3 separate regions of the Homo sapiens genome follow, and regions 2 and 3 are each linked to region 1. Evidence: promoter capture Hi-C in human tissues and cell types (Jung and others, 2019). All regions are on one chromosome and are shown on one strand. The core of a region is centred on a gene start or on the middle of the fragment in contact, and the rest is flanking DNA. Distances in the headings are between cores, read along the strand shown. Region 1 holds the start of MYL5 (myosin light chain 5). Region 2 overlaps MAEA (macrophage erythroblast attacher, E3 ubiquitin ligase). Region 3 overlaps ZNF718 (zinc finger protein 718).

Evidence for each region. The method cuts DNA at HindIII sites, captures the fragments that hold promoters and counts their contacts. A contact is called where the count stands out against the background at its distance.
Region 2: a fragment that was not itself captured here is called in contact with the fragment with the promoter of MYL5 in region 1 in 1 of the 25 tissues and cell types used here (lymphoblastoid cells).
Region 3: a contact is called between a fragment that was not itself captured here and the fragment with the promoter of MYL5 in region 1, in 4 of the 25 tissues and cell types used here (dorsolateral prefrontal cortex, lymphoblastoid cells, spleen and 1 more).

Annotation. Positions count from the first base shown.
Region 1 is chr4:672,369-677,522 of GRCh38, reverse strand. MYL5 (myosin light chain 5) reads right to left here and starts at 2,981. Exons shown (of 9, transcript NM_002477.2): 1 at 2,840-2,981; 2 at 1,314-1,450. ATP5ME (ATP synthase membrane subunit e) reads left to right here and starts at 3,247. Exons shown (of 4, transcript NM_007100.4): 1 at 3,247-3,311; 2 at 3,557-3,611; 3 at 4,122-4,220; 4 at 5,004-5,087. The coding sequence starts at 3,276. The coding sequence ends at 5,023. It also overlaps a transcript of SLC49A3 not described here. RefSeq lists enhancers at 2,411-2,480, 2,358-3,115 and a silencer at 2,691-2,960. The HindIII fragment of the contact is 2,744 bases long and covers 2,708-5,154 here.
Region 2 is chr4:1,297,717-1,302,870 of GRCh38, reverse strand. The region is part of intron 1 of MAEA (macrophage erythroblast attacher, E3 ubiquitin ligase); the gene reads right to left. Among named protein-coding and RNA genes, the nearest start is that of MAEA, 10 kb to the right of the region's middle. RefSeq lists an enhancer at 4,861-5,154. The HindIII fragment of the contact is 9,660 bases long and covers 1-5,154 here.
Region 3 is chr4:141,155-146,308 of GRCh38, reverse strand. The region is part of intron 3 of ZNF718 (zinc finger protein 718); the gene reads right to left. Among named protein-coding and RNA genes, the nearest start is that of ZNF718, 19 kb to the right of the region's middle. The HindIII fragment of the contact is 4,248 bases long and covers 1,037-5,154 here.

The DNA.
Region 1 (5,154 bases), core at 1,732-4,231:
CATAGCCTTGGCCCTGGGACCACCCCGTCTGACCTCATGGCTGGGAGCTCCTTGCCTGGCCCATGGGTGATGACATTTCTGGGTTGGAGGAGCCATGGAGATGGCCACGTTGCTCAGATGGGCTGGGAGGGGGACTCTAGGGCCCTGAGCCTGGTCTTCCCCACTATACCATGGCCTCAGGCACAGAGTCTGGGGTAGGGACCTGGCCCAGGGTCTGTTGGTGGTGTCAGACATCAGAGGCCACCACAGAGTCAGCATCCAGATGCCCTGGTTCAAGGGGTGGGAGGAGGGTCTGCAGGCCAAGCAGGATCAAGGAGGAGGCCTACAGGCTGAGTGGAGAACAAGCTTTTGGAGCCCCCCAGGCCTGCGTCTGCGTGGGACGCAGTAGGTAACAGGACCCAGGGCACCTGCCCCTCGGTGCTGCAGGGGCAGTGGTGGGAGTGACTATATGCAGCCACAACAGCAGGTGGGATCCCTGGGGGCGCCACCGTGTCTGCAAGGCTAAAAAGACAGGTGCCACTTGCATGTCTCTTGAGCAGAGGTCCTACCCCCTGAGGGACACATGGTCACAGTTGGCGTCCCCTGAGATGCTGCCTGGTGCCATCCCCAGGTCCAGCGGCCTCTATGAAGCACTGACTCCTGAGGTTGAGGACCCTGGAGGCATGACCTGCCCAGGAGGGACCTGGGGCCGACTGCAAGGTGTCAGGTGACCAGATGTGGAACCCTGGGGCTGGGAGCAAGGGCCAGGGCATCCCCTGCTGCCAGTCCAGTGGGGTCTGGGTGTGATCCTGAAGGGGCACTGCTGGGCTGCAGGAGTGGGGAGAACCACACCGAGGGGGGAAGCATGGTTGGGAGGCCCCCCGAGGCCACCGGGAATGTGAGAAGGGCTGCAGAGCCCCCTGCAGAGGGTTCCCAGGCCACTGGAGTCTGAGCACAGTGCTAAAGATAGCAGCAAGCCTGAGCCGGGGGAGTATCGGCTTCTGCACCCACAGCTGACCTGACAGCTGCAGAGGCCCCTGCGGGCGGTGTGCTGAGCCAGGTGGGACCCGTCCCACCACTAAGCTCTCAGGAAAGGCCTTGAGCAAAGGCAAGTCTCCATTGGCTTCAGGGGGTTTTCCCCAGGCCGTGTGTGTTTGCCCGCATGTTTTCTCTGCTGGTGCCCTGCCCCGCCCCACCTCTGGTGGAAGCTGCTGGTATGTCCCCCTCACCCCCTACCTTGGGCCCCAGAGACACTTATTTTTGATTCTGGAAGCAGGAGTTGCTGAGGAGTCTGGATTATTTTAAACTCCAGTGAAGGGAAAACCCATTGTCACCTGAGGCCGTCTGCCCTGGCGGAAGCGGGGGCTTGCCGAGGGCCAAGATGGTTCTGTGCCTTGTGGATCCAGTGTGCACCTGCGGCTTCCTCAGCGAGCAGTAGACACGGGGAGGGCTGGAGTTTGCTTCTGGCCCCCTGAGGACAGGGTTCAGGCAGAGGCCTCAGGCAGGAGTCTTCAGGGACTGCCAGCCAACCTCACAGAAGCTGGAGAAAAGATCAGGTGGCCCTACAGCAAGTACCTAACCTTTTTGGCGCCTGGGACAGGTTTCACGGAGGACAGTTTTTCCGTGTTGGGGAGGAAGGTTTCGGGATGAAACTATTCCACCTCAGTTCATCAGGCATTAGATTCTCACCAGAGCGCAATCCAGATCCAAGTGCGCAGCTCACAGTAGGGTTCACGCTCCTATGGGAATCTGATGCCCAGGCTGATCTGAAAGTGGGTGGAGCTCGGGCAATCATGCTCCCTCACCTCGTCCTGTGCTGCCCGGTTCCTAACGGGCCACAAGCTGGTACTGGTCTGCACCTGGGGGTTGGGGACCCCTGCCCTATAGGACTGGCCTTGGTATACCCAGCTCAGGAAACAGAGCCCAGTGACTTCCTAGTTTCTCAGCCAGAGAGGCCCAGGCCCTGGACCCCAGAGCAAGCCAGGAGAGGGGGCAGAGGCGACTTAGGCCCGGACAGGTAGCCCAGGCCGCCAGGATCACGGGTCCTCCCCATGCTTGCTTCAAGAGTCCTGGAGTTTGTGATGCTGCACCTTAGCGAGACCCGAGCCATAGTTCTCCAGTTGCTTCTGCCTGTAGCAGTGCAGGGCCAGGAGGGGACACAGGAGGCCTTGCGTCACTACTGCATGGGGCCAAAGGGGGCCCGAGGGTGGCCCAGCACGGGCAGCATGGCTGCCGCCAGGAAGACCCAGAACGTGGAGGGGGTGCCAGGCTCCTGCCTAGACTCCAAGCCTGGTGTCCATGGGGCTGGCGGGTCAGCACTTCGGGCACAGCGGGGAGGCTGCATAGGCACCGCAGGCCCCATCTCTGGGCAGCTGTGGGAGACACACAGCTACCGGGAGGTGGACAGAGGCCAGCAAAGACCAGTGTGGGGCTCAGTGGTCCCCAGGCCTGGGCCGGGGCAGGCCCTTGGAGCCGTGGAGTCCTGAGGCCTGGAGTCGGGGGACCCAGGGAGCAGCCTCTGTTGGGGGCTGGTCTTCCCAAGAAGATCCCAGCCCCTCTTCGGGACAGAAGTGATGGGGCATCCTGGGGTGAGGAAGCTCCAGCTCCGGGATGAAGGGCGCCCCGTGCTCCCGGGCAGAGCAGCCGCAGGAAGAGGGGCCTGGAGGCCATGCTCCCGCGGGCCGCGGAATCCAACGCGGCCCGGCCGGCGACAGACACTACTGCCTTGTAGGAGAAGGACCTGCCCGGGGAGCCACCTGCACTCGGCTCACACTCCGCTCCCAGGACCCCCAGGTCCCTGCCCAGGCCACCCTCGGGTGGGCGCGGTCCGCGGGGCTGGACCCGCCCGAGCCGCCCTGACCTCAGGCCTCCGACGCTCCGCGCAAGAAGACAGAGTGCGCCCCGGCCCGCAGTCTGGGGTGTGGACACACGGCCAGGACGCGGACGGCGGGGCCTCGGCAGCAGCGCGGGGAAACAGCGGACCCCCAGCCCTGCGGGGAAAGGAAACCCCCCGCCCACTCGGCGCAGATCCCGCCTCACGCAGCAACTGCGCAGGCGCAGCCGATGATCCTCCGCGCACTCCCCAGCCTTTGTGCGCGTGCGCCTCACGTGACGTCACCGCCGCGCGGGGGCGCGCAGTCACCCTTCGGTCGCCAGGGGGCGCGGCCCCCCGCTCTCTCGCCGCTGACGGCGCATGCGTGCGCCCAGCTCCGCCTTTGCCTCCAAGGCTTTGCTGGCTTGTGCGGCATCCTGCTCCGTCTGCAGGTTGTGCTTCCGGTGCGGAGGTCAGGGACAAGATGGTGCCACCGGTGCAGGTCTCTCCGCTCATCAAGGTGATCCAGGCTTTGCAGCCGCCGCCCAGTGCTCTGGGCCCCCCCGTGTCCCGCCCCGCAGCTCCGACCCCGCGGGCTGCGACCCCCGGCCCCCGCCCCCATGATCCTCGCCCCGTGACCCTCGCCCGGCGACCGGACCCCCACCCCTCCTGCGACCTCTGCCCAGCGACCCCGCCCCCCCTCCTCCCGCGACCCCCGTCCCGCGAGCCCCGTTTCGCGCCGCCTCTGACCAACCTCTTTCGCAGCTCGGCCGCTACTCCGCCCTGTTCCTCGGTGTGGCCTACGGAGCCACGCGCTACAGTGAGTGACCGCGGGCGGGGCCGGGGCGGGGTCTGCTCGGCTTTCCTGTGGAGCTCCTGTGCTATTTGGAGAACTCCAGCTCTGGAAGGGGGCTTGGGACGCATGCGAGGCTGCAGGACCGTGTCCTCCACCGAGCGTGACCCCGATAGTGGAATCAGCTCACCCAAAGCTCAGGCTTCTGAGGCCCGGGCGGGGGACTCGAAAACGGCTGCTTCTTGGTGAAAACGGGTGCTAAATGGCTGTTCGAGTGCTGAGGTCTTGATGGGAGGCAGTCCCTGTTCGCAGAGGACGAGTGAGCCAGTGCGTGAGCGGGTGGGCAGCAGGGGCCCTGTAGCCTCTGGGTTGGACTCGTCAGGGTGAAGGTCAGGCGTTGACTCGCATTAACATAAAGAGCGGGAACAGCAGGTGCGTCTGGTTTACAGCGTCGCTGAAGATACCTTGACCTGTGGACTCAGTTCCTTTTGTACAGCATTTCCAGTGAATTTTATTCTCCTGCATTCCGCCAAACAGATTACCTAAAACCTCGGGCAGAAGAGGAGAGGAGGATAGCAGCAGAAGAGAAGAAGAAGCAGGATGAACTGAAACGGATTGCCAGAGAATTGGCAGAAGGTACGAGTGACACTGGCTCTTATAGATTGTCCCTCCCAGGTTTGTGCAGGGATAAGGAAAATGGAGGAGGACATTTAAGCAGAGCTAAGTAGATGCGGATTGTTTAAAAATGGGGAAGCTGGCCAGGCGTGGTGGCTCATGCCTGTATCCCAGCACTTTGGGAGGCCAAGGCGGGCAGATCACCTGAGGTTAGGAGTTCAAGACCAGCCTGACCAACATGGTGCAACCCTGTCTCTACAAAAATTAGCCGGGCATGGCCCGGTGCGGTGGCTCATGCCTGTAATCCTAGCACTTTGGGAGGCTGAGACAGGCAGATTGCCTGAGCTCTGGAGTTCGAGACCAGCCTGGGCAAGATGGTGAAACCCCATTTCTACTAAAATACAAAAAATCAGCCGGGCATGGTGGCAGGCACCTGTAATCCCAGCTACTCAGAAAGCTGAGGCATGAGAATTGCTTGAACCCGGGAGGCGGAGGTTGCAGTGAGCTGAGATCACGCCACTGCACTCCAGCCTGAGCAGCAAAGTGAAATTCTGTCTAAAAAAAATTAGCCAGGCATGATGGCGGGTGCATGTAATCCCAGCTACTCAGAAGGCTGAGGTGGGAGAATCGCTTTAACCTGGGATGCAGAGGTTGCAGTGAGCTGAGATTGCGCCATTGGGTGACAGAGCGAGACTCCGTCTCAAAACAAAAAAAAAAAAAAAAAAAATAACTGGGAAGCTGAAGTGGTCTTTTTAGGTTGCCTGAGTGGTAACATGTGCTTTTCTTCTAACCTTCCGGCCCAAGATGACAGCATATTAAAGTGAGTGACCCTGCGACCCACTCTTTGGACCAGCAGCGGATGAATAAAGCTTCCTGTGTTGTGTGATACTCCGGCTCCTCATTTGCTGTCGCTGGTTGTGGAATTCCTAGGTTGAAGTTCTGTCCACCTCCCAGT
Region 2 (5,154 bases), core at 1,326-3,825, 630 kb before region 1:
TCCCTAAGGATTAATGATGTGCTTAGTGGCCATTTGTATATCTTTGCAGAAGTTTGCTAAAATTGTGTGCTCATTTAAAAAATGTTTTCTTGGCTGGGCGCGGTGGCTCACGCCTATAATCCCAGCACTTTGGGAGGCTGAGGCGGGCGGATCACGAGGTCAGGAGATCGAGACCAACCTGGCTAACACAGTGAAACCCCGTCTCTACTAAAAATACAAAAAAATTAGCCGGGCATGGTGGCAGGTGCCTGTAGTCCCAGCTACTTGGGAGGCTGAAGCAAAAGAATGGCGTGAACCCGGGAAGCGGAGCTTGCAGTGAGCCGAGATGGCGCCACTGTACTGCACTCCAGCCTGGTGACAGAGTGAGAATCCAACTCAAAAAAACAAGTTTTCTTTTGCCTTTGTATTAATGAACTAGAAGAGTTCCTAACCTATTCTGAATACTAAACCCTTAACAGATATATGACTGGCAAACATTTTCTCCCTGTTCTGAGCAGCTGTCTTAGTCAGCTCAGGCTGCTGTAACAAAAATATCACAGACTGGGCAACTTAAACAGCAAACACTGATTTCTCACAGTGTAAAGTACTTTTGTTGCATCTATTGAGATGATTATGTGGTTGTTGTCCTTCATTCTATTAATATGATACACGACATTGATTTTCACACGTTGAACCAACTTTGCATTTCTGGGGGAAATCCTACTTAGTCCTGACACATAATCCTTTCTATATTTTGTTTTCTTAGATTTTCTTAGTTTTCTAAGATTTTGTTGAATATTTTGGCATCTATTTTCTCTCATCTGGAACAATGGTCTATGGTTTTCTTGTGATGTCTTTGTCTGGTTCAAGGTTATATCAAAGTTATACTGGCCTCATAGAAGGAGGTGGGATGTAATCCCTCCTTAACTGTTTTTAGAAGAGTTGGTATAAATCCTTCTTTAAATGTTTAACAGAATTCATCAGTGAAACCATCTGGTCTCAGGCTTTTCTTTGTGAGGTTTTTTGTAGTAACTTCACCTGTTATAGGTCTATTCGGTCATCACTTTTAACTTACAAAAATAACAACTGTATATGATTCAACCTAACACTTTTTTCCTTCTACACATTTTGTCTGTGTCCCTTGTCCAGTGCTTATTTATTTTTACTTATTCACTTACTTATTCATTCATTCATATAGGGCGTCACTCTGCTGCTCAGGCTGGAGTGCAGGGACACAATCATGGCTCACTGCAGCCTTGAGCTCCTGGCTCAAGTGATACTCCTGCCTCAGCCTCCCAAAGTGCTGGGATTACAGGCATGAGCCGCTGTGCCTGGCTTGGTATTTGCTTTTAAATTCTGGTTCTATCTTTTCTGGTTATACCAAAGAATTAAACTTTTATTTATCACATCTCCCCAATTTTTCCTAAGTAATTTGTTGCATTACAGCTTTTTATGTTCACGGGATTTCTCTACTTAGCGAATGTTAAATTACATCTCCTCCAGTACATCTTCCCCTTTGGTGACTCACAGCAGTAATCCTCCCTGATTTCGTCACTGAAACAGAATGTGGCAAGCAGTGTGAGTGGAGACATGCGTGAAACGTCTGCACCTGCCCGCCCGCTGCCCCCACACGGTGCCATCAGCTTCAGGATGCGCTTCCTCAAACCTTCTCCAGCGTTTGCCGTGCTTCTGACAGAATTTGCTGACAAAACGCAACGCATTTCAGTGTGTCATCATCATGTTTTCACCAGCACGGGAAGGAAGAATTTCCCCAATGCATGAGGCTCTTTGTCTTTTGCAATTAACCAGAAGAGGTTTCTAAATATTGATCACGAAGCTCATCACAGGGCCAGAAGTGCTGGATTAAGCCCTGGGTGGCAGTTTACATCCCTCTCCGTCCTGGAGGGGCCAGTCTCATGTTCTGGTGCGGGGCATGTAATCACGGTGGCTTCCTGCCATCCTGAGCTAATCTCCCCAAGCACAGCACATACCCTGAGGGAGGCTCACCAAGGAAAAACGCTTCGAATCCCCTAAGAGGCTTCTTGAAAAAATGACACTTCCAGTCAACTTCTGAGGGGATGTAACCAGATTGATGTTGCGCCCTACAAAGCTCGCAGTGGCAAGAGTGCTGTCGGCCCTGAGCTCTGCGCTCCCTGTTGTGTGCACGCCCAGTTAGGCCCAGCCTTAGCCAGCCACTTCCTTGCAGGAACCTTTTAAAGCCACTGGTCCGTCTTGGAAAGGGTATGCGACCTGCGGCAGCGGCACACACGCACGCCACGCAGCCCCAGCCTCGGAAGCCGGCAGCACGGAAGAGCCGGGGCCGTGCCCCACGCGGTCCAGTGCCCTCATCCCCAGGTCACTCCCTGACCAAACAACAGAGACTGCAAGCGGGCAGGAGTGTCAGTTCATAATCACAACATCAGCAGAGCTTCCTCTCTCACCTTTCCATAAAGTATTTCAAAGGGAGCCAGCTGTTCTGCCACAAGGTCACAACTTTGGCAGTTACATACCTGGCTGTGGTGTCTGGCAAGGCCCAGCCCTTCTTGGTGTCCCTTTCATTATAAATAAGAAATATTTATCAAACACAAAAAGAACAATATGATATCATTACGGTTTTCATGCAGAAACACGGCATCCTCTGCTAGTGCCAATCTTCCTTCGGGCCTTTCCTGAAACAGCTCCGTGGCAGTCAGGCTGCCTGCTAAGGATGCTGTTGGATCGTCTGTCTCTGCTGCTTTGGGTTATGGTGAATGGGATGTGTTCTAACTGGCTGGCGGTGATATAGAGGGTGGCGACTGGGTTTCGTGCACTTACTGTATGCCCCGTTATTGTGCTGACTTTCTCAATGGTTACATTTACTTCTATTTCAATTCTTACTGCTTTAGACAGAATTGCCAAAATAATATTTAATATTATTTTGTTCATTTGTTAATTGGAGAATTTATTTCTTCTCTATCCTTCAAAAGAGCTTATAATCCCAGTGGTCAGAAACAAGCAAAATACCGTTATGTGAGACAGCGGTCACGACTCACGAGGGAAAAGGGCAGAAGTGGGAGATGCTGGGGCTGCAGTTTCAACAGTGGAGTCAGAGAAGCTTCACAAGCTGACAGCTCAGCGAAGATTGAAGGAGGTGAGGACATGGGACCACGGACGTTGGCAAAGATTGAAGGTGAGGACATGGGACCATGGACATCTGTGGAAGGAGCGCTCCAGACAGAGGAAGGTGGCAGTAAAACCCTGGGCTCGGCATGCTGGCCTGGCTGAATGGCGGCAGAAAGGCCACTGGGCCCAGCACCCTACAGGGCAAAGGGCCTGGGAGCCACTGTAACGACCCTGGCCTTCATCCCCAGGTCAGGAAACTCCTAGAACAAAAAGACGACAGGATCTGGCGCTGGGGCAGCCGGGGTGGGCATGAGCAGAGCAGGAGCAGCCAGAAGGCTATTCAATATTCCAGAGAGAGATGCGACTTGAGCCGCAGGGGCAGAGGTGGGAAGAGCAGCAGCAGCTGGGCCTGGGCATGTCCTGACGCCAGGGTGGAGGGGCAGACGGGCTGGGCATGAGCTGTGACAACAGAGGCATCAAGGCCAACCTGAAGGTTCTGGCCTGACCAAGGGAGATGGAGGGGCTGCCCTTCCCGAAGAGAAGGGAGACTGGTAGAATTGGTTTGGGCAGCAGGTGTTAAGATGATAAGCTCAGATCTAAATATGCCAAGGAGCTGGGCATGGTGGCTCACACCTGTTATTCCAACACTTTTGGACGCCCAGGAGGGAGGAATGCTTGAGCCCAAGAGATGGAGACCAGCCTAGACAACGGAGCTAGAACCTATCTCTACAAATAAAAAAATTAGCCAGACACGGAAGCAGGCGCCCGTGGTCCCAGTTACCCGGGAGGCTGAGGCAGGAAGATCACCTGAGCCCAGGAGGTCAAGGCTGAAGTGAGCTGTGATCATGCCACTGCACTCCCGCCTGGGTGCCAGAGTGAGATCCCATCTCTAAAAATAATAATAATTTTAATAATAATAATTTTAATGCCAAAGTGCCTTGCCAAGTGGGTATGTTTTACAGGCTACTGGATACAGGGCTCTGGGGTTGGGAAGATACCTGCCTGGGAGTCATCAGTATACACAGAGGGTCCTATCAGTCCACTAGACCCTGTGAGAGCACCAAGGCAGCGGTGCTCACAGCAACACCCAGGGCCAAGGACTGAGCCCGGGGGGAAACGCGAGGATGGCGCTCTAGGAGCCCGAGGGGGTGAGCTGTGTTCCAGCCCTGTGAGAGGTCGAGATGGGCAGCAAGAATCCATCATGGGTCTCAGCAGTGTCTTGGGGTTACCTGGTGCCCTGACTATAGCACTGTGATGGGGGTAAAACCAGATGAGAAGCAATTCCAGAGACCCCAAGGCAGGGCTGGCTCAGACAGAGGGGACCTGTGGGTCCCGCACACAGTTAACCAGAAGACGGCGCGTGTGCCTCTTCGTGGATAACCAGAAGACGGCGCGTGTGCCTCTTCGTGGATAACCAGAAGACGGCGCGTGTGCCTCTTCGTGGATAACCAGAAGACGGCACATGCCTCTTCAGGTCACAGGGATGGGGCAGGGGGTCTGGTGCATGAACAAAGGCTGGCCTTGGGCGGGGCACAAATGACATATCTCCAGTAAAAGAAAGGAAACAGTGAGCACAAGCAGGCAGGCGACAGACAGGGCCAAGCCGCGGGCAGAGCACAAGGACGGGGCAGGCATGGGGGGCTCATGGAGAAGGAGGGGCATATGGAACAGTACCTGGGGTACAGGGTGCTAAAATGCCTCAAGAAGCATGGCTATGCTGCCAGGCAGTACTCGACACCCACTCCAGGCAGCAACCGGGTTCCTCAGCAGATAGGTGCGGCTTCTGTGGCCAGTGCAGGGGCCTTGCACAGCGGGGTTTCCATGCTGGAATGTTCTAGAACAATGGGAAGCAGAGAAGGGCAGGGGATGGGGCTACATCGCGAGGGGTGGAGGCAAGGGAGAAAGGAAACGCAAGAGGCTGACCACAGCCAGATGAGAGCACAGGCCATGAGACCAAGACATACTCTAGAATGCGGCAAGTGGACAAAAGTGAGATGCGAAGTTTAGGAATTTCCCAGACAGACGGGGGAGAAATTGGTTCGGCCAACAGCCATTGACTGACTCCTGTGCCAG
Region 3 (5,154 bases), core at 1,911-4,410, 530 kb after region 1:
ACAAATAAGGAGACTATACCTGACAAAACTGTCCTTTACAAATGAAGTATCAATCAAGATATTCTCAGATTAAAAAATAAGTTGAGGGAATTTATAATCACTAGACCTGTCTTACAAAAAAATGTTAATGAGAATTTTTCAAGTTATAAGGATGGAATCCTAACTTACAGCAAGAAAACATATAAAAGTATAAATCTTACTGGAAAACATATATATATATATATATATATAGAAGGCTATATCACTAATTATGGTGCATAAATCACTTTTAACTCTGATATAAGTTACAAAAAAAGCATTAAAACACATATAGCTTCAGTATATTTGTTAACAGGTACACAATATTAAAAAAAAGTAAAGGGTGACATAAATAGTGTGTTAAAGGAAGTAAAATTGTTTAATTTTTCTATACATAGAAGGTAACTTTTGCTTGAGGCCTGGAGTTCAAAACCAGCCTGGTCAATATAGCGGGACTCTGTCTCTAAAATAAATACATGAATAAAATAAAATAAAGATCTCACAAAGCTGTTTGGTTTTTTTAAAAAAAGAAGCACTGGGTGTGATGTCTCATGCATGTAATCCTAGCACTTGGAGAGGCCAAGGCAGGTGGAGTGCTTGAACCCAGGAGTTCAAGACCAGCCTGAGCAACATGGCAAAACCCTGCCTCTATATAAAGTACAAAAAAAAGTAGACAGACTTGTGCTTGTAGTCCCAGCTACTCAGGAGGGTAAGGTGGGAAGATTGCTTGAGCCTGGGGAGGTCGAGGCTGCACTAAGCTGTGAATGTACTGCACTTCAGCCTGAGTAACAAAGGAAGACCCTATCTGTACAAAAAAAGAAGTTACATTGTTATCTCAAGCTAGACTTTTATAACTATGAGATGTTTTATGTAAGTCTCTTGGAAATTAAAATAAAAATGGCAGTAGATACAAAAGAAAAAGAATCAAAGCATATAAGAAAAACAAAACAAAAATTCAAGAAAACGCAAGGGAAGAAAGCATGAAAGAATTAAAACACAGAAACTACTAACTGGTCAGAAAACAATGAACAAAATGGCAGTAATAAGTTCTCATCAATAATTCCTCTAAATAGAAAAACATTTACTTATCCAGTGAAAACATATTGCTATTGTTTGAGTGTCCCTCCAAAATTTATGTTAATATTTAACTGCCACTGTGAGAAAATGAAGTGAGCCCCTTAAGAAGCTATTAGGTTATGAGAGCTCTACTCTCATGAAAGGGTTAGTATCATTATTCCCACACTGGGAATTAGTGGTTCGAAGATGAAAAAGAATATTCCATGCCAATAACTAAAAAAGTGTACGAGTGGCTATATCAAACAAAAGAGACATATAGAAAAAAAAAATCTGTCACAAAAAAAACTTTGCATATGATGGGGTCTTATATTTGAAAAAACCTACTTCACTAAAACACCATTAGAACTCATACATTTAGTCAAGATACAGGATTAAAAAATTAGTGTTTCTACATGCCAACAGTGAACAATGTGAAAATCAAACCAAGAGAGTAATTCCATTTACGGTAGCCACAAATTAAAATTAAATACCAGGAATGAACTTAACCAAAGAAGTGAAAGATCTCTATGATGAATACTATAAAACATCGATGCAAGAAATTAAACAAGAGAAAAAAAAGGAAAGATATTTTATGTTCATGAATAGGAAGGATCAGTATTATTAAAATTTTCATACTACCCAAAATGATCTACAGATTTAATGCAATTCCTATCAAAGCATCAATGACATTCTTCACAGAAATAGGAAAAACAATCTTATAATGTAGACAGACCCATAAAAGACTCAAAATAGCCAAAGCCATTGTACCAGAAAAGAAACTGGAGGAATCATAGTATTTGAATTTAAATGATACAACAGAGCTACCGTAATTAAAATGGCATAAAACTGATCAGTAAAACAGTAGAGCGAATGCAGAGATAAATCCATATTACAGCAAACTTCTTTTTGACAAAGCTGTCAGGAATATATTGTTACCGCTAGAAAGTATCCGGGTTCTTGGCATCTTGAACAAAGAATTGGACAAAATACACAAAGCAAGGAAGGAATAAAAGGATTTACTAAAAATGAAAGTACACTCCACAGTGCGGGCCCGAGCATAGGGGCTCGAAGGCCCCCTTACAGAATTTTTGGGAGCTTAAATACCACCTAGAGTATTCCATTGGTTACTTTGGGTATGCCCAACGTAAATGGAGAGGGTGAAGTAAATTTAGTTATTAACGGTGGATGCCCTATGGAGAGGATATTTCCTGTTATAGCTGAAGTGTGAATTGGGCTTATGGTCCCTGCCTCCAGACCGTTTTCCTGCCTCATGTCCCCCGAGAGATGTGATCCCCATAAATCCTTATAGGAGACGGGGGGGTCAACGGTCTTTTTCTTTCTGTAACTGCTTTATGCTGGCTTGGGGCATAGTCCCTGTCTATTGGGGATCACAGTACTCTCGCCCTGTTCTGTCTAGTGGAGGCAGGGTAGTTTCTTGATGGCCAGGGGTGTGTTTTCACCTGGAACTGGCTGGAGATTTCACTGCATGATCAGTGAAGCTTGATGGTCTCTAGGCAAGAGCAAACGTGTTTGGTTAAAAGATATAATGGGGGTGGATACCTATGCTGTTAAGAATGTTTGTTACAGAGATTTGCAGGAGAAAAAAAACCTGATTTGTTCTAGAATTTATGTGTTTCCTTAAAGTCTTGGCACAAGCAACTCCATTTTGTTTTGGTCTGTTGGTGCCTAGTGTATGAGCTTAGTCCAAAACAATGGCATCCCAGAATTTTGTTTAAAAACTTCCCCCTTGGCCGTGCACACTGGCTCACGCCTGTAATCCTAGCACTTTGGGAGGCTAAGGCAGGTGGATCACAAGGTCAGGAGTTCAAGATCAGCCTGGACAAAATGGTGAAACCCCGTCTCTACTAAAAATAGAAAAATTAGCCAGGCGTGGTGGTAGGCACTAATCCCAGCTACTTGGGAGGCTGAGGCAAAGAATTGCTTGAACCTGGGAGGCAGAGGTTGCAGTGAGCCAAGATTACACCACTGCACTCCAGTCTGGGTGACAGAGACTCCGTCTCAAACAAAACAAAACGAAATTCCCCCTTTTTGGTTAGGTTCTCACTTAGATTAGTGTGTGTCCAAAATTTAGGGCCTTAGAGCCACTCTCAGTTACCATCATTTTGGATTTCTGGTCTCAGCACATTATTTATAGGTTACGGTGTTCTCATGGTTGCACGTTTCTTTTAGCTTCTGTTATTCTAGTTGAAGAGAGACCATATGACATCCTAGAGATGGCTGCATGCAAGCATTTAAAACCTTTGAGAGAATACAGCACACAAGGGAGACTATTATTATGACTATTGGGAGGAAAATACCAAGAGTTCACAGTATGCTCCTTACTCAAGGTTTCCATAAACCAAACCTCGTAAAATTAAATAGATCAAAGAATGAGCCAGATAAAGAGTTTACTTACTTAACTAAGCAATTTCTTTGTTAATCCCCTACCACTGAATTTCTATAATCTTCATTTGATGTATTTCTCCATAAGCCACAAGTGCCAGCAGCTGCACAGGTACCTCTTTGTTTAGTCAATTCTATTATAACTTTCACAAAAGAATTTAAAGTCTATTGTGTAACTGTAGCCTTTACAGTAGAATTTGCTATAGAGCCTATCATGAGGGATACCTTTTTAAATCATTGCTTCTTTTACTTTAAACCATGGGAAAGGACCTAACAAATGATGCCCCTCTAGAAGAGTGAAGGCCTCCTGGCAATGGTCTCTTTAGCCCACGGTGTGGGTTAACAGGAGTGAACCAATGTTTTGTTTTTGGACTGATTATGAGGCAATGTATGTACCATTAAAGTTTCTTACTTACACTGACTGGGCTTTCATCTTTTATTTATCTAAGTATAAGCTTATCCATATATAAGGCTGGCTGCAAACTCCTTCACAAATAGAAGTATACTCCATAAATGCACTTAACAGATCCCTTTTCTACTTTTAATGTTTGTAGAAGCATAAGAAAAAAAATTCAAAGGTAAGAGTTTTATGATAGAAGTTTTAATTTGTGAACTTGGGAAAAGCTGTTTACATCAAGGATGCCATCTTCTTGGGAGAAATCTCCCTGGTTAGCTTCACCTCAAGGGTTCCAATGGCTGCACAGTTCCAAAAATGTGGAGGGACCCTTATCAAAACCCGTTAACCTAAAGCCCAAAGTCCTGACATTTTGTTGTAGTGTGGGTGGCAAGGACAGTTTTTCTCCTATGTTCTCAGAAGATTTAAACCATAAAAAGCTTTTTTACCTGCTGGAAATATACTGTAGCATAATAATCTCAGCCTCCTTGCATAGTAAAGCTTTTATACAACAGAAAACATGCATTGAAAATAACAACTGAATGAAATCCCTTTATAAAATGTTTAAATGGCCCACCAGGTGACCAAATATACCTGAAGCTTTAATTGTATTGTATTGTTTTGGTATTTAATTTTTGTTTTACTTGTGTTAGTAGGTCAGTAGCTTTATACAAGGAAATTTGATTATTTCTGCAGTTTATAATAACATAATAACCATAATTATAATTGACAGCATATACTATTTTAGAAATCTCATACAGTTTTGGAACATATATTAGTATTATTCACAAAAATATAACCTAAAGCAGATTGAACATCATTTTAGCAATCACATGTACCCAAACATGTCAAATAATCCTGTTTACCTCCTTTCTGAATGTTTTCAGTGGCCCTCTGATCCATCCAAAAAGCCAGGCATTAGGAAACAAGCATGTATGTGAAATTTGGCTTTACATTATATCCAGCTTCATGCTTAACTATATTTAAAAAAATAATTGCCAAACTGCTGATGCATTTTTACAATACTTTTTATTTTACTTTAATCAAAACTAACAGCTTTATGAAAATGTTTAATTAGCCAAACGTCTCCAATTCTTTATCAGGGTTTAAAAAATATTTTATGATTTAAACTTTTCCCACATTTTTTGCCTAATGATTCCTTACTACATTGTTTTATGAATAACCTTTTTAAATCTGTAATTTGAACCAACTTTTAGATAACTATTGAATTAGACAAAACTATTCTCTTTTTTTTTCATGAATAACATAACCCTTTCTGGTAC